Regions from separate parts of the Homo sapiens genome. Here all the other regions are linked to region 1. The links are contacts of gene promoters, found by promoter capture Hi-C in blood cells and fetal thymus (Javierre and others, 2016). All regions are on one chromosome and are shown on one strand. Each heading gives the region's core, a stretch centred on a gene start or on the middle of the fragment in contact. The rest is flanking DNA. Distances are from core to core; before and after follow the strand shown. Region 1 holds the start of SCRN1 (secernin 1). Region 2 overlaps ZNRF2 (zinc and ring finger 2). Region 3 overlaps NOD1 (nucleotide binding oligomerization domain containing 1). Region 4 overlaps NOD1 (nucleotide binding oligomerization domain containing 1). Region 5 overlaps ZNRF2 (zinc and ring finger 2).

Region 1 (2,700 bases), core at 70-2,569:
TCTCTCCCCAGCACCCAGTCTCCCAGTTCTGCTCCCTGGTGGCATCTATTACAGGTTCTTACGTACTCTTCCAAAGATACTCTGTGCATTTACAAAAATAAGTACAGACATACATATATATTTTCTTCCCACAAATAACACACACAACGTTCTGCACCTAGCTTTTTATTTTTCTTTAGTTAGTATAGGTTGGAAATAGTTTTGTATTAGCAAATAAAGATCATTCTCCTTTTTAAAGGAAGCTGGATAGTAGAGGCAGGCGGATTGCCTAAGCTCAGGAGTTTGAGACCGGCCTGGGCAACATGGTGAAACCCCATCTCTACTAAAAATCAAAAAAAATTAGCGAGGCTGGTGGCGTGGGTCTGTAGTCTCAGCCACTTGGGAGGCTGAGGCACGAGAATCGCTTGAACCCGGGAGGCGGGAGGCGGGAGGCGGGAGGCAGGAGGCGGAGTTTGCAGTGAGCCGAGATCCTGCCACTGCATTCCAGACTGGGCGACAAAGCAAGACTCAAAATGTTTTGATTTTTGTTAATCTGGCTGGTGGAAGATGCTACCCCACATATTTGATTTGCAGTTAAGTGAGCCTGAATATCTTTTCGTGTGCCAGGATAGAATTGCATTTATTTTCCTCTGAATTACGTCTTCATATCTTTTGAGATAGTCTTTTCTTATTTACTTATAAAAGATGGAGTTGACGCTGGCATCAACACACACACACACACACACACACAGACACACAACACACAAGTCCCTGTACATAACTTTATTAACCCAGATATGGAATCTTGGCTTAGTTACGTGCTGTGTGACCTTGGGCAAGTTACTTAACCTCTCTAGGCCACAATGTCCAAGTACCTGGGACAGGGTCTGGCTTACCAACATGGTACAGGACGGCACTTTTAAAACCAGGGACTCGACTTGGACGTGCGAGTCAACAAGGTACAGGACACATTTCTCTCCGGGGAAATCTTGTGTGGGCGCCGAGGCCCGGACGTAGCAACCAAACGTCGGGAAGAGGCGCCAAAAGGATGCTGGGCCTGGCTCCTTGAAGCCCGGGTTTTCCCTTTTGAGAGCCACAACCAAGAAATAAAAATCTAGCAAAGAGGGGGCCACTTTCTGCGGCGAGATACGCCCTCTCGGCCGCTCCTCCAGCTCCCAGGCCCCCTCCCTACTCGACGGTGAGCAGCGCCGCGGCCCGTGCAGCCAGACGCGCGGGGTGCGGCGGGGCCCCGGGGGCCGGGGTGGGGGAGGCGGAGGGTGGGCCCGCGGTCACGTGAGTCGGGCCAGCTGCTGCGGGGGGCGGCGGGCCCCAGCGCCGGGAGTCTGGGTAGGGGGAAGCGCCCGGCGGCCGCCTCCGCCACTGCAGCTGCAGCCCCCGAGGTCGCCGCAGTAATCCGGACCCGGCAGCACCCGCACCCTCGGCGGCCGCAGCCTCAGCACCGCAGAGCGGAGAGCGGAGCCCGGAGCCCGCCGCCCCAGGTGAGCCGCGTCTGGGAGCGCAGGGCGTTTGCAGCGCTGCTTTCCCGGCGGTTTCACCCCACCCGCCATCGCCACCTCCTGCGTTTCATCTCCTCCCGCTGTCCCTCCGAACCCGCGGGTAGCGTTACCCCAGGCCGATTCCCGGTGCTGGCCCGGGCGGGCTGGGAGCCTGGGGGCGGTCAGAGGAGAGGTGGCCTCGGCCTGAAGCCGGGGTGACTCGGCTCGGGGACTGCGGGGGTGCAGTGGAGGGATGCCGGCCCCGGGCTCCCGCACCGCAGCCGGGTTCCCCGCGCTGCTCTTCCTGGGTTTCCTTTTCCTGGCAGCCAACCTGCTGCCCACTGGGATGTGCCTGTGGGCCCCTGGCCTCGCCACCCTGGGGTCTGGGGCGAGCCGGGCACCTTCCCCGAGGTGCCGTACCTGCTGCGCGGGCGGGCGCCGCGAACATGGCTGCCCGGAGACGCCCGCCGCCTTCGGCCCGGCTCTGCCAGCGCGTCCAACTCGCCCGCGGCCGCCGCACCGTGTCCCGGAGCAGCCCTCCCCGCTAGGCCGACGCGCGCGGGCCGCCCCTGGGTTCTCCGCGGGCCGCGCGTGGGACTTGACACAACTTCCCTCGAGCCGCACCCGGGCGTTCTCCGCGGGGCGCCGGGCGGGGCTGCCGAGAGGCCGGCTTGGTCGGCCTCTGCCTCCTCGGCTCGCTCTTGAGGCGTCGAGTATTTGGCGACCTCACTCGCGAGGGCCGAGAGAAATGTGGTCTGCAAAGCAGGAGGGGCGCTTGAACTTTAGAGAATTGGCGAGAACTCGGATTTGGGAATAAAAATGTCCATGAAAACATCGAAGGAAACTGTTACCTGCTTTGACTCAAAGCTGACCTTGTAGGGTTCTGTTAAATAACGTGGCTTTTCTGGATTTTCTGTCTGATTCTAGCATGCAAGTCCTTGACTTACGCTTGCGTCCGGCAGCCGGGTGGGGTGGGTGCGTGCGTGTGTGTGTGCGCGTGTGCGCGTGTTGTGTTCCCAGCCTGGTTAGAAGATGCATCAGTTGCGGAGGAAACCTATGCTAATTCAAAATGGCAGCATGAAAAATAGGCCAGGCGGAAGCAGCACAGACCACAACCATCAGCTGCCCCCTGACTTAAGCCTCAGGGAGGGAATTAGTGTGAGTCAAGGCTCATCCGGGTATGGAGTAGAGAGTGATTCTTGGAGCTGGCTAGATTTTAGGGTGC
Region 2 (2,700 bases), core at 101-2,600, 320 kb before region 1:
ATTGGACTCAGTGTTACCAGTATTTTCTAAAACAACGCATACATAATATAATCCTTAAGAATTATGTCAAAAATTAATTCAGAACTGAAGGGCTGGTTCTACAAGGATTTTCAAGCTTAGCAGGTAGCATGCCAACTCCTAAGTATTTAAGCCAAGTTTCCTACAACTACCCTAGAACCCAGCGCAACTTTCTTAACACATCTGCAGTTAGTCTGACAAAAGTCATTAACTTTCTTTCCCATTGGGGCTCACCTATGGAAACCACTTTTCATTGGTATGTGTTAGTTACCTTCTTAAAGATACTGCTCTTCATGAAATTCACTCTGCATTATATACTTCCTTAGCTATATTGGGTTTGCTGGTAGTTCGTTTCTACATCCCCCAAATTCACATATGGAAGAATCAAATATAGCATTACAGACTTAAGCATTTATGACTCTTTAGGAATGAAAGGAATTAACATCCTACAGCCTATTTACTATCTATCTTAAAAGTTACTCGTAAAGAAATTACACTCGGGGTAAAATTCTGGGGTTGGTAAAGTGCAGGTTCTTGTGCCGGACCCCTATTGACTCCAAGGGGAATGGCACCAAGTTCAAGAGGCCAAAAACAAGACCCAGAGCCAGCAAACAAAACACGGGGTTTTACTGGAGGCTTACATACAGCGCAGAGAGTACCGCAGCAGTAGACTGGTCAGAAGAATCACCTTACACACAGTCAAGGGGTGGCAGGCTGGACAGAAGAACCACAACAGCTTGGAAAAGGCATGTAGTTTATAAAGCATTTTCAGTTAGCATCCTCCCACTAACAACCTCCACCTGTCAACCTTCTTTCAACCCCAAACTTGGGACCTCGATCCCCTGTACAGCTCATGTTCCACAGGACAGGACAAGACAGGACAGGACAGGACAGGACAGGACAGGGGCTCAGATGTTTCTCCTTAGACAAGGAACGAATCTCCTAATTAGCCACTCTCAGATTCCCTAGCTTGGAACTCACATTCAGTCCTGTATGCCACACAGGGTCATCCTCAAGGTATGCTTAAGAAAATGGCTATCAGGTGCGTTTACCCCACATAGGTCTGCAGGCCAACTGTGGCCTACTGTCAATTTTTGTACAGCCCTTGAGTCAAGAACTTTTTACATTTTTTAATGGCTGAATAAAAATTTTTTAAAAAAGAAAATGCTATGGCATGTGAAAATTATAGGAAATTCAAATTTCAGTGCCCACTAACCAATTTTTATTGAACGTGGCCACACACATTCATTTATGTATTGTCTCTATGGCTTACCCAAACTACAAAAAGAGGGAACAGAGACCAAAAGATCTGCAAAGCCTGAAATATTTACTATCTGGCCCTTTACTAGACATTTGCCAACCCCTGGATTAAGTCTTTAAGAACTGTTCAAAATATCCAAATATTTGTTTCAAAAGAGGAAAGAAAACCATTCTGAAAAAGTTTCGTTATGACAAAAACTCATCTGTAAGCTGCCAGTAAGTTGCATTAAAAAGTTTAGTCTAACCAAAGGGCTAAGGAATAATGAAGATGTTCCAGTCAGGCCAGTGTTACCACTGTTTTCCTGCTGCCACACCTGTTTATTCTCAAGCCATCACCCACCTGGTAGATTTTACCTCCTGAGTATCTGTCAGATTCAACCAATTCTTTAGACATCTACACCACCCTCACAACGTAGCTACTGTTATTTTTTCCTGGACTATGGCAGTAACCTCTCTATGCATCTGCTCTTGACCTCACCCTTCCCCAAACTGTTGTCACAGGCTATCTTCAAAACACCAACCAGACCTGATCACTCCCTGGTTTAAAATACACATAAACAAATACCAACTTTTTATTCATATACAAAGCCATGTATCTTGTTTTCTTCCAACTCCAGCCTCATTTATCTTCCATACCCTAAAACTTTTTACAAATTTTTAATAAATTACATAACATTTTAAAATATATTACATGCTACATATCTATACTTTCCTGATCAGCAAAATTTAGCATTTAACTGAATCACAACAATGCAAAACAAAAATTACCGGGTACCTTTCTGTACTGCTTAATAACAGGTTAGTTTCCTGTACTTTCCTTCTTATCCAACAATTACCAAACATAGTACACACATTCAAAAAATACTCACTGCTTAATTCACTATAAACACTGACTTCCAATGCTCTTAATTCTATTGGAAGTTTAGACGGACATGTGCTGATTCAGGATAGTGAACTCTGCACAATACCACAGCAAAAGGTTGACAGATGTGAAAGTTTGTATGTCTGGGTTTTCAAAGAGTTGCTTCTAAGAGTAAAGAGTCAGGGTGTCTTTTAGCTGTCTACTCCAGTCTTTAACTAGGACATCATCATTATACATGCTGAGTTTTATCAGAGAAGTGATAAATTTCTGAGCACTCTAAACACATTCTTATCCTAAATAATGGTTAAATAATCCCTTTAAGAAATCTAAATTTGACTCTGATTGTTGAAACAGAAAATATTCAGTATAACTATTTGACTAAATACATTAGAAGAGTTCAGAGAATGTTCAAAGTCCCACTCATGATATCCAAATAAAAGCTTATATACTCTGCTTTGCCATTATTTTAGAATTTTTACATGTTTTAATACGAAGCCTATTCTAACTTTTTAAAGTAAAAAGGCCCTCAGTAATAAAGACAATGTCATCATGTAAAGAAA
Region 3 (2,700 bases), core at 141-2,640, 440 kb before region 1:
CATCTTCCATGAAATCTGAGGGCTCAGCAAAGGTGGGGAGGGAGGGTGGGCTCCTCTACAGGTAGCTGGGCTAAGAAATAGGAGCCCAGGTACAGGATTTGCATTAAAAATGAGTCCCATTGACCTTCTGTGGGGCTGACAGGCTGGGCTTGGAGCCTGGCTGTTTTCTGGGTTCTCAGCAAGTGATCATCTGCATAGCTGGAGAGCCTTGGGCTGAGCTCCCGCTCCTGTGAACTCTAAAACAATGTCTGCCAAGTAGGCTCTCTTGAGTAAATACTTCCTTTTTTTTCCTTAGGCTGACCCAAAATGAACTCAACGATGAAGTGGCAGAGAGTTTGGCAGAAATGTTGAAAGTCAACCAGACGTTAAAGCATTTATGGTAACTCAGAGAGCCTTACAATTTCAGACTGTGCTACTTTTCAAAAGTATTTTTTGAGATAAAATTTACATACTGTAAAATTCACTCTCTTAAAGTATACAATTCAGAGGTTTTTAGTGCAACCATCACCACCTAATTCTAGAACATTTTCACTCCTCCTCCCCACTCCAAAAAGCCCTGGTATCCATTAAGCAGTCACTCCCTGTCCTCCTCCCCAGACCCTGGCAACCACTAATCCGCTTTCTGTCTCTATGGATTTGCCTACTCTGGGCATTTCATATAAATGGAATCAAGCAATATGTGACCTTTTGTCTCTGTGTTCTAGCATGTTTCATTCCTTTTTATGGCTAAATGATAATTCACTCTAAGGAAATTTTGCAGTTTATTAATCAGTTGATGGGACATTTGGGTTGTTTCTACTTTTTGACTATTATGCGTAATGCTACTGTGAACACTCCTGTTCATGCTTTTGGGTGAACATATGTTTTCATCTCTTTTGGGAATATACCTGGGAATAGAATTTCTGGGTCATATGGCAATTCTGTAACTTTTTGAGGAGCCACCAAACTGTTTTCTAAAGTGGATGTACTATTTTACATTCTCGCCAGCAATGTATGTGGATTCCAATTTCTCCACATCCTCACCAACACTTATTATTGTCCATCTTTTAAAATCTAGTTATACTAGTGGATGTGAAGTAATATTGTGGTTTTGATTTGCATTTCCCTGATGACAACAATGTTGAATGTCTTTTTATGTGCCTACTGGGAGTCTGTATAGCTTCTTTGGAGAAATGTCTCCATATCCTTTGCCCATTTTAAAATTGGGTTTGTCTTCTAATGCTGAGTTATAGGGGTTCTCTATATATTCTGGGTGCTAGACCTTTACTAGATACAGGTTTTGCAAGTATTTTCTTTCTTTCTGTGGAGTTTTTCCTCTTTCTTGATAGTGACCTTTAAAGGACAACAGTTTTTAATTTTTGTTTTTTTTGAGATGGAGTCTTGCTCTTGTCACCCAGACAGGAGTGCAGTGGCATGATCTCAGCTCTCTGCAACCTCCACCTCCTGGGTTCAAGCGATTCTTCTGCCTCAGCCTCCTGAGTAGTTGGGATTACAGGCATCAGCCACCATGCCTGTCTCATTTTGTATTTTTAATAGAGATGGGGTTTCACCATTTAGGCCCAGGCTGGTCTTGAACTCCTGACCTCAGGTGATCCACCTGCCTCAGCCTCCCAAAGTGCTGGGATTACAGGCGAAAAGCCACTGCACCTGGCCAATAGTTTTTAATTTTGATGAAGTCCAATTTATCTATTTTTTTCTTTGGTTGCTTGTGCTTTCAGTGTCTTATCTAAGAAATGATTGCCTAATCCAAGATCACAAAGAACTCCACCTAAGTTTTCTGTTAAGCGTTATAGTTGTTTCCCCTCACATATAGGTCTGCAATCCATTTTGAGTTAATTTTTGTATAGTGTAAAGTGAGGGTTAACCTCATTCTCTTGCACGTGGATATCCAGCTGTCCCGGCAGCACCACGTGTTGAACAGATTATCTTTTCCTATTGAATGGCCTTGACACCCTTGTCAAAAATCAATTGACCATAAATGTATGGGTTTATTTCTGAATTCTCTGTTCTGGTCCATTGATTTATATGTCTCTCCTATGCCAGGACCATTGCTGTAGCTTTGTGTAGTACATTTTGAAATCAGGAGGTGTGAGTTCTACTTTGTTCTTCTTTCTCAAGATTGTTTAGACCATTCTGGGTTCTTTGCATTTCTTATGAATTCAGACTCACCTTGTCAATTTCTGCAAAAAGACTAGACTCTGCTACATATTGTTTTTTCTTTCCTTTTTAGCCTGCAGAATTATTTGATCCCATTCCCTAAGTGCAGGCCAGCCTCTCCAGGGAGAGCAGAGCTAGGACAGGGTCAGAAAGAGAGTCTTGGCTGCTTTGTGCATTCCCAACCTGCACTGGCCCTAGTGAAGGCAGCCCGAGTGGGTGGATGTGCCTGGACACTGCAGGCTTTTTAGGGGCATTAGGTGCTCTCCTTCCTGGCCTCCTGCCACATCTTGGTTGGAGGCTGCCTTCCCTGCCTTCAAAAAAGCCTAAGTGGTGACTAGAAAACAGCAGAGTGTAACTGAATACAGAACTTGGTGCCCACTTCCTGGTTCTATTTTTGTCCCTTTTGAAAGGGAAGGTCATTACCTCTGCCATTGAACCCAGGGGCCCTAGCCCTTGTGGGGTATGGCTGGGAGCACCAGATCCTGGCTGCAGCCCAGCCACCAGTGGTCCTGTGTGCTTGGGCAGTAACAGTGACAAGAGCTC
Region 4 (2,700 bases), core at 157-2,656, 460 kb before region 1:
TTTACAGCCTTCTTCCTCGTGCTGGACGACAGGGTGGGCACTCAGGAGCTGCTCAGGTTCTTCCAGGAGTGGATGCCCCCTGCGGGGGCAGCGACCACGTCCTGCTATCCTCCCTTCCTCCCGTTCCAGTGCCTGCAGGGCAGTGGTCCGGCGCGGGAAGACCTCTTCAAGAACAAGGATCACTTCCAGTTCACCAACCTCTTCCTGTGCGGGCTGTTGTCCAAAGCCAAACAGAAACTCCTGCGGCATCTGGTGCCCGCGGCAGCCCTGAGGAGAAAGCGCAAGGCCCTGTGGGCACACCTGTTTTCCAGCCTGCGGGGCTACCTGAAGAGCCTGCCCCGCGTTCAGGTCGAAAGCTTCAACCAGGTGCAGGCCATGCCCACGTTCATCTGGATGCTGCGCTGCATCTACGAGACACAGAGCCAGAAGGTGGGGCAGCTGGCGGCCAGGGGCATCTGCGCCAACTACCTCAAGCTGACCTACTGCAACGCCTGCTCGGCCGACTGCAGCGCCCTCTCCTTCGTCCTGCATCACTTCCCCAAGCGGCTGGCCCTAGACCTAGACAACAACAATCTCAACGACTACGGCGTGCGGGAGCTGCAGCCCTGCTTCAGCCGCCTCACTGTTCTCAGGTGAGGCTGCCAGGCAAGGGGAGCAACAGGTGGGCCGGGCGGGCCAGGCTCGGAGGGCATCGGGAATGGCATCATGGACCAGGATCCCCCAGGACTCATGACCATGGCCCTTGGAATGTCCAGACCTTTTCTTTCTTAGCAGGGCAGAGGTCAAGGTGCAAAGCTTCGAGGCAGGTGGACCTGGATCAGCCACAGCTGGGTGCCCTTGAACAAAGTGCTTAACTCTCAGAGCCTCCACGCCCTCATCTGGAAAAAGAAGATGCTCATAATCCTATCAATTATGGCCACAGGGACCAATGTTAGTTGAGAATGGGTGAAGTGCATTACAAATATTACCTAATGGAATGCTCTTTACAACCCTGTAACTTAGGTACTGTTATTGTCTCTATTTTGGCAGATAAGGAAGTAGAGGCACAGAGAAGTTAATAGCTTGCTTTAGGTCACACAGCTCAGACATAGCAGTGCCAGAATGCATAAAGAACCTTCCTTTTAAGATTAATGTAAGGCTCCGAGATAGCCCTCAAAAAGTTTCTGGAATATGGGAGCTTTTATTACTGCAGAGAAAGCAGACCTTGTGCCAGTTGGCACTGGTGACTTTCTGTGATCAACGCTAGCAGCCCTTCACACTGCTAGAGACCTCAGTTAAAATGCTGACTCGTGGTTGTTTTCCTGTTCCATAGTTTACGGGAAACAGAGCCCAGTCTGTTTTCTTCTATTAGCATTTCCTATGTAAAATAAACCTTGTAAATCTCTACAGGGGGTTAAATTTGCCATTACTTGACTCATGCATTTCTAAAAAGCAGTAGGGATTTGGAACTGACTCCCAGTGCCTGTCACACCAGTGTCAGAGTGTAAATAATTGCATGGGGACATGGGGTGCAGGGGGTCGAAGGCTGCCCTAGCCTGGGAATTGGAAAACCTGGAGTCTGTTCTCTGTACTCTCAGCCAGTGACTCTCCCTCTGTAGCCCCAGGCAGTCTCACACTCAGTGCCACCCTCTGTCCATCTTTTTTTTTTCTCCCCCAAATGGAGTCCCGCTCTGTTGCCCAGGCTGGAGTGCAGTGGCGTGATCTCAGCTCACTGCAACCTCCGCCTCCTGGGTTCAAGCGATTCTCTTGCCCCAGCCTCCTGAGTAGCTGGGATTACAGGCACACGCCACCATGTCCGGCTAAGTTTTTTGTATTTTTAGTAGGACGGGGTTTCCCCATGTTGGCCAGGCTGGTCTTGAAATCCTGACCTCAGGTGATCCGCCCGCCTCGGCCTTCCAAAATGTTGGGGTTACAGGCATGAGCCGCCGCACCCGACCCCTCTGTCCATCTTTTCAATGGGAAACTCCACACCAGTGTGGTGGCCCTGCCCTTCCTGCTGTCCCCAGGTGAAGCTTTCCTTCACACCAGTGCAAGAAAAAACAGCTTGTAGGAAAGCAGAGGATATGGGTAACCACGGGAAGCACACTCAGTTCTCTGGCTGCATCAGTTAGGATTAGTTTTAGCTGAGAGCGAAAACCCCAAATGTTGGTGAGTTACAAGCTTATTTCTCTCATGTAAAAGTCTAGAGGTAGGTAGTTCAGGACTGGTATGGAGTCTCCATGACCCTCCGGAGCCCAGGCTCTCTTCTGCCTTCCTGTTCTGCCATCCTCACTACCCGGCTTTCCCATCTTGGCCCAAGAGGGCTGCTCAAACTCCAGCCATCTAGTCGACACTCTAGCTATCAGTAAGAAGGAAGGGCAAAGATTGAGAGCATGCCTCAATCTTTTAAGAACACTTCTTGGCTATTACTAATTATATTGCTGCTTAGATTTCAGAACTTAATGGTATGGGCAGAATTTAATGAGATGGGCCCAGCTAAAAGATGGGGGAATCTATTGCTAAGAAAGTATAGATATTGGGAATGTCTAGCAGCCTGTGCTGTCTTGGGCTGGCCATGCCATGTACATACACACTATTTCCCAGCACCAAGCTGGGGACTCTGAGGGAAAGGGTCCAGAGTGTCTGACTTGATCATTTTGATGTGGCCTAAAAATCAAGCTTTTAATTGTTCAGCCTTTTACTTGTTATCAAGGTCAGCTT
Region 5 (2,700 bases), core at 146-2,645, 380 kb before region 1:
AACATTATGAACATTATGTTGGGGAAAACAAAGAGACCCCAAATTAAAAAACAAAACAAATCAAAACATAACTAGTTGTGCAGCTCTGGAGAACTTAATAAAAAGTAAATCAACTTTTAAATCAGTTAACTTTGGCGTCTGAATACAAAATGTTTATCAGTATTACCTATGTAGATGACTATTAAGGGATGTGCAGCATTTTCAAAATCCCTGTGTGTCCTTTGTATGCATGTTTGGTACACTGAGTTCTGTGGTCACTGTCCTCTCTTCAGCAGGGTTTTTTTACCCCAGTACGATTGTCCATCTCTGTATTACCAAGTCTCACAAAACTCAGATTTCTGGCTGAGTATGCCTGCGTCTTTGTTTCTCCAGAGACAGATTTTCATATCCTCTTGGTTTTTCAAGCATCTTGTCAAGACAAGAAAACCTGTGTAAAAATAGATTTCCCCATGAACATTGCTTTAGTTACTGTAAGTCTTCATACCCTTACTTACTATTCTGAAAACTCATAAAATCAGTGATCTGGAGAAGAACAGATTAAGAAACAGAAGGATCAATTAAAGTTTAGTCACAAAAAATACATAACAAAGTCATCCCCCTTTCACAATAAGGACTACACGCAAGTAAAGAATGCACACACACGGAGATTTAAAATATTTCTCCCAAATAACTAAAAACCCCAAAATAAGTACAGCAATTTTCTAACTAATCAAGACCACAAATATTCATGTCTCTCTATTTTGGGTTGATTATTAAATTCTTATGCTGAAGGATATCAGAAACGTTGAGCTTTATGGCTACACAGTGCCTTACAAAATGTTTTAACAACACTGAATCCTCCTCAAACCCATATACCTTTAATCTAGGACTATTAAAAGGTATACAAGAATTTATCACTTGATAAATAAGAACAGTCAGGACAGAAGCAAAAATGTACAAGTCAAGATATTCCATGTCTATAAACTCTTAAAAATGACTCTTCAAGACCCACAGAAGCAGACTCCATTGGTTCAGATTTCTGTAGACACCTGATTAACAGAGTTCACCCTGCCCATGTAGTAGGCTAGTTTCAAATTCAGGTTCTATATTCGAAAACAAACAAATAAGCAAATATAACACTCATATGTAACATAAGAAAATGGAAATGTTGTTGAAGACCAACAGACATATGCATTTCAGCTATGAGATGAGATGTATGCTCCACATATCCCATAAGCTCACTGTGACACTAAAGGAAAAATTTAGCTGATGAAAGAAAAAAAATTTATACAATATAATTCCACCTCACCAAAAAAAAAAAAAAAAAAAAAAAAAGCTTATCAGCTCTATGGTCTAAATGTTTGTGTACTCCCAAAATTGCTATGTTAAAACCTAATCTGCAGTGCTATAGTATTAAGAGGTGGGGCCTTTGGGACATGATTAGGTGATGAGGGCTCTGACCACATGAATGCAGTTAGTATCCTTATAGAAGCTTGAGGGAGTCTGTTATCCCACCACGTGAGGACACACAGAAGGTGCCATAAATGAGCAATGAGCCCTCATCAGACACCAGATCTACTGGCTGGAACCTTGATCTTAGACTTCCCAGCTTCCAGAACTGTGAGCACTAAATTTCTGTCATGTATAAATTACTCATCTAAGGTATTTTGTTATAGCAGCCCAAAATGCACTAAGAAAGACTAAAAAGACAAATTTTATCTATAGATGAAGGATTTAGATGTATTACTTTGGCATGTAAAATACTAAGACAAAAATTTCATTTTGTTAGCATCAGTTTCAGTACTTCCCTTAAAATGCTTCTATAATTTTAGCCACAGTTTCGTTTTGTCTCAAACATAAGGTGACAATGAAGGCATTCCAAACCTTTTCTATGGTGAAATAAAAACATATGTGCACATATATTCAAAATACCACTCCACCACTATACTTCTCTTACCTAGCATTCTTACTTCCATTCACATTTTATTTATTTATTTATTTAGACAGGGACTTGCTAAGTCACCCAGGCAGGAGTGCACTGGTGTGTTCATAGCTCACTGCAGCCTCAAACTCCTTATCTCAAGCAATTAGTGTTCAGCCTCAATTCATATTTTAAATGTGTCAAGGCATGATCTAAGTAAGTTCACAGGAAAGGTTAAAATTGGCAGTCTTTTAGTACTCTGCAGTCTACCAAGGCTTCCACATTTCACATGCACATGCGTAGTCTTATGACACTCAACTGCAGTTCTCATTTCAGGTGCTATTGCTGCTATTATCTCAAATCTTCTCTGTCAATATTCTAATCTGCTACTCTTAAATCATCTTCCACCAATACAGCAACAGAATTCCTTGAGGGTGTTTATTACCTCAACACTTTTATTCTCAAATTTAAGAGAAGTTATTGAAATAAAAGGAAATGGTACCACACAGGACTAGACCTCTGGACGTCATCTGGTCTAGTTCCTTGCCATCAGTCTCAGCCTCCTAGAAAAGCCGGCTGTTACTGTCTTGAGTCCCTGAACAAAGAGACTCTCACTCCTGAAACAATTCTAGGATTAGCTAAAATGCTCTGCCTTGATATAACAATCCAATGCTTTATATCATCTCTCCAAGTCTTTTCATAAAAGCTTTTCATATATTTGAAGATAGCAATTAAGTTAACCTTTATTTTTTCAAAGCTAAATGATGTCAATTTAATGCACTTGTGAAATGTGAAAAAAA

Evidence for each region. Contacts are between HindIII fragments. The CHiCAGO score rates a contact against its expected background, and 5 or more counts as called.
Region 2: a contact is called between a fragment that was not itself captured here and the fragment with the promoter of SCRN1 in region 1, in 1 of 17 cell types (total B cells). The highest score is 5.1, in total B cells.
Region 3: a fragment that was not itself captured here is called in contact with the fragment with the promoter of SCRN1 in region 1 in 4 of 17 cell types (monocytes, total B cells, naive B cells and 1 more); the score reaches 9.3 in monocytes.
Region 4: a fragment that was not itself captured here is called in contact with the fragment with the promoter of SCRN1 in region 1 in 1 of 17 cell types (neutrophils); the score reaches 5.6 in neutrophils.
Region 5: a contact is called between a fragment that was not itself captured here and the fragment with the promoter of SCRN1 in region 1, in 1 of 17 cell types (total B cells). The highest score is 8.0, in total B cells.

Annotation. Positions count from the first base shown.
Region 1 is chr7:29,988,420-29,991,119 of GRCh38, reverse strand. SCRN1 (secernin 1) reads left to right here and starts at 1,319. Exons shown (of 8, transcript NM_014766.5): 1 at 1,319-1,478. It overlaps FKBP14-AS1 (FKBP14 antisense RNA 1), which reads right to left and starts at 2,464. Exons shown (of 3, transcript NR_187577.1): 1 at 2,327-2,464. RefSeq lists silencers at 1,193-1,532, 1,553-1,602, 1,613-1,882, 1,973-2,092. The HindIII fragment of the contact is 11,019 bases long and covers 1-2,700 here.
Region 2 is chr7:30,309,077-30,311,776 of GRCh38, reverse strand. All of the region lies in intron 1 of ZNRF2 (zinc and ring finger 2), which reads right to left. Among named protein-coding and RNA genes, the nearest start is that of MIR550B1, 21 kb to the right of the region's middle. The HindIII fragment of the contact is 2,465 bases long and covers 118-2,582 here.
Region 3 is chr7:30,430,775-30,433,474 of GRCh38, reverse strand. It overlaps NOD1 (nucleotide binding oligomerization domain containing 1), which reads left to right. Exons shown (of 14, transcript NM_006092.4): 12 at 296-379. Among named protein-coding and RNA genes, the nearest start is that of LINC01176, 41 kb to the right of the region's middle. The HindIII fragment of the contact is 3,695 bases long and covers 1-2,700 here.
Region 4 is chr7:30,449,148-30,451,847 of GRCh38, reverse strand. It overlaps NOD1 (nucleotide binding oligomerization domain containing 1), which reads left to right. Exons shown (of 14, transcript NM_006092.4): 6 at 1-632. Among named protein-coding and RNA genes, the nearest start is that of NOD1, 28 kb to the left of the region's middle. RefSeq lists an enhancer at 1,822-2,322. The HindIII fragment of the contact is 1,217 bases long and covers 798-2,014 here.
Region 5 is chr7:30,363,762-30,366,461 of GRCh38, reverse strand. It overlaps ZNRF2 (zinc and ring finger 2), which reads right to left. Exons shown (of 5, transcript NM_147128.4): 5 at 1-427. Among named protein-coding and RNA genes, the nearest start is that of LINC01176, 26 kb to the left of the region's middle. The HindIII fragment of the contact is 156 bases long and covers 1,318-1,473 here.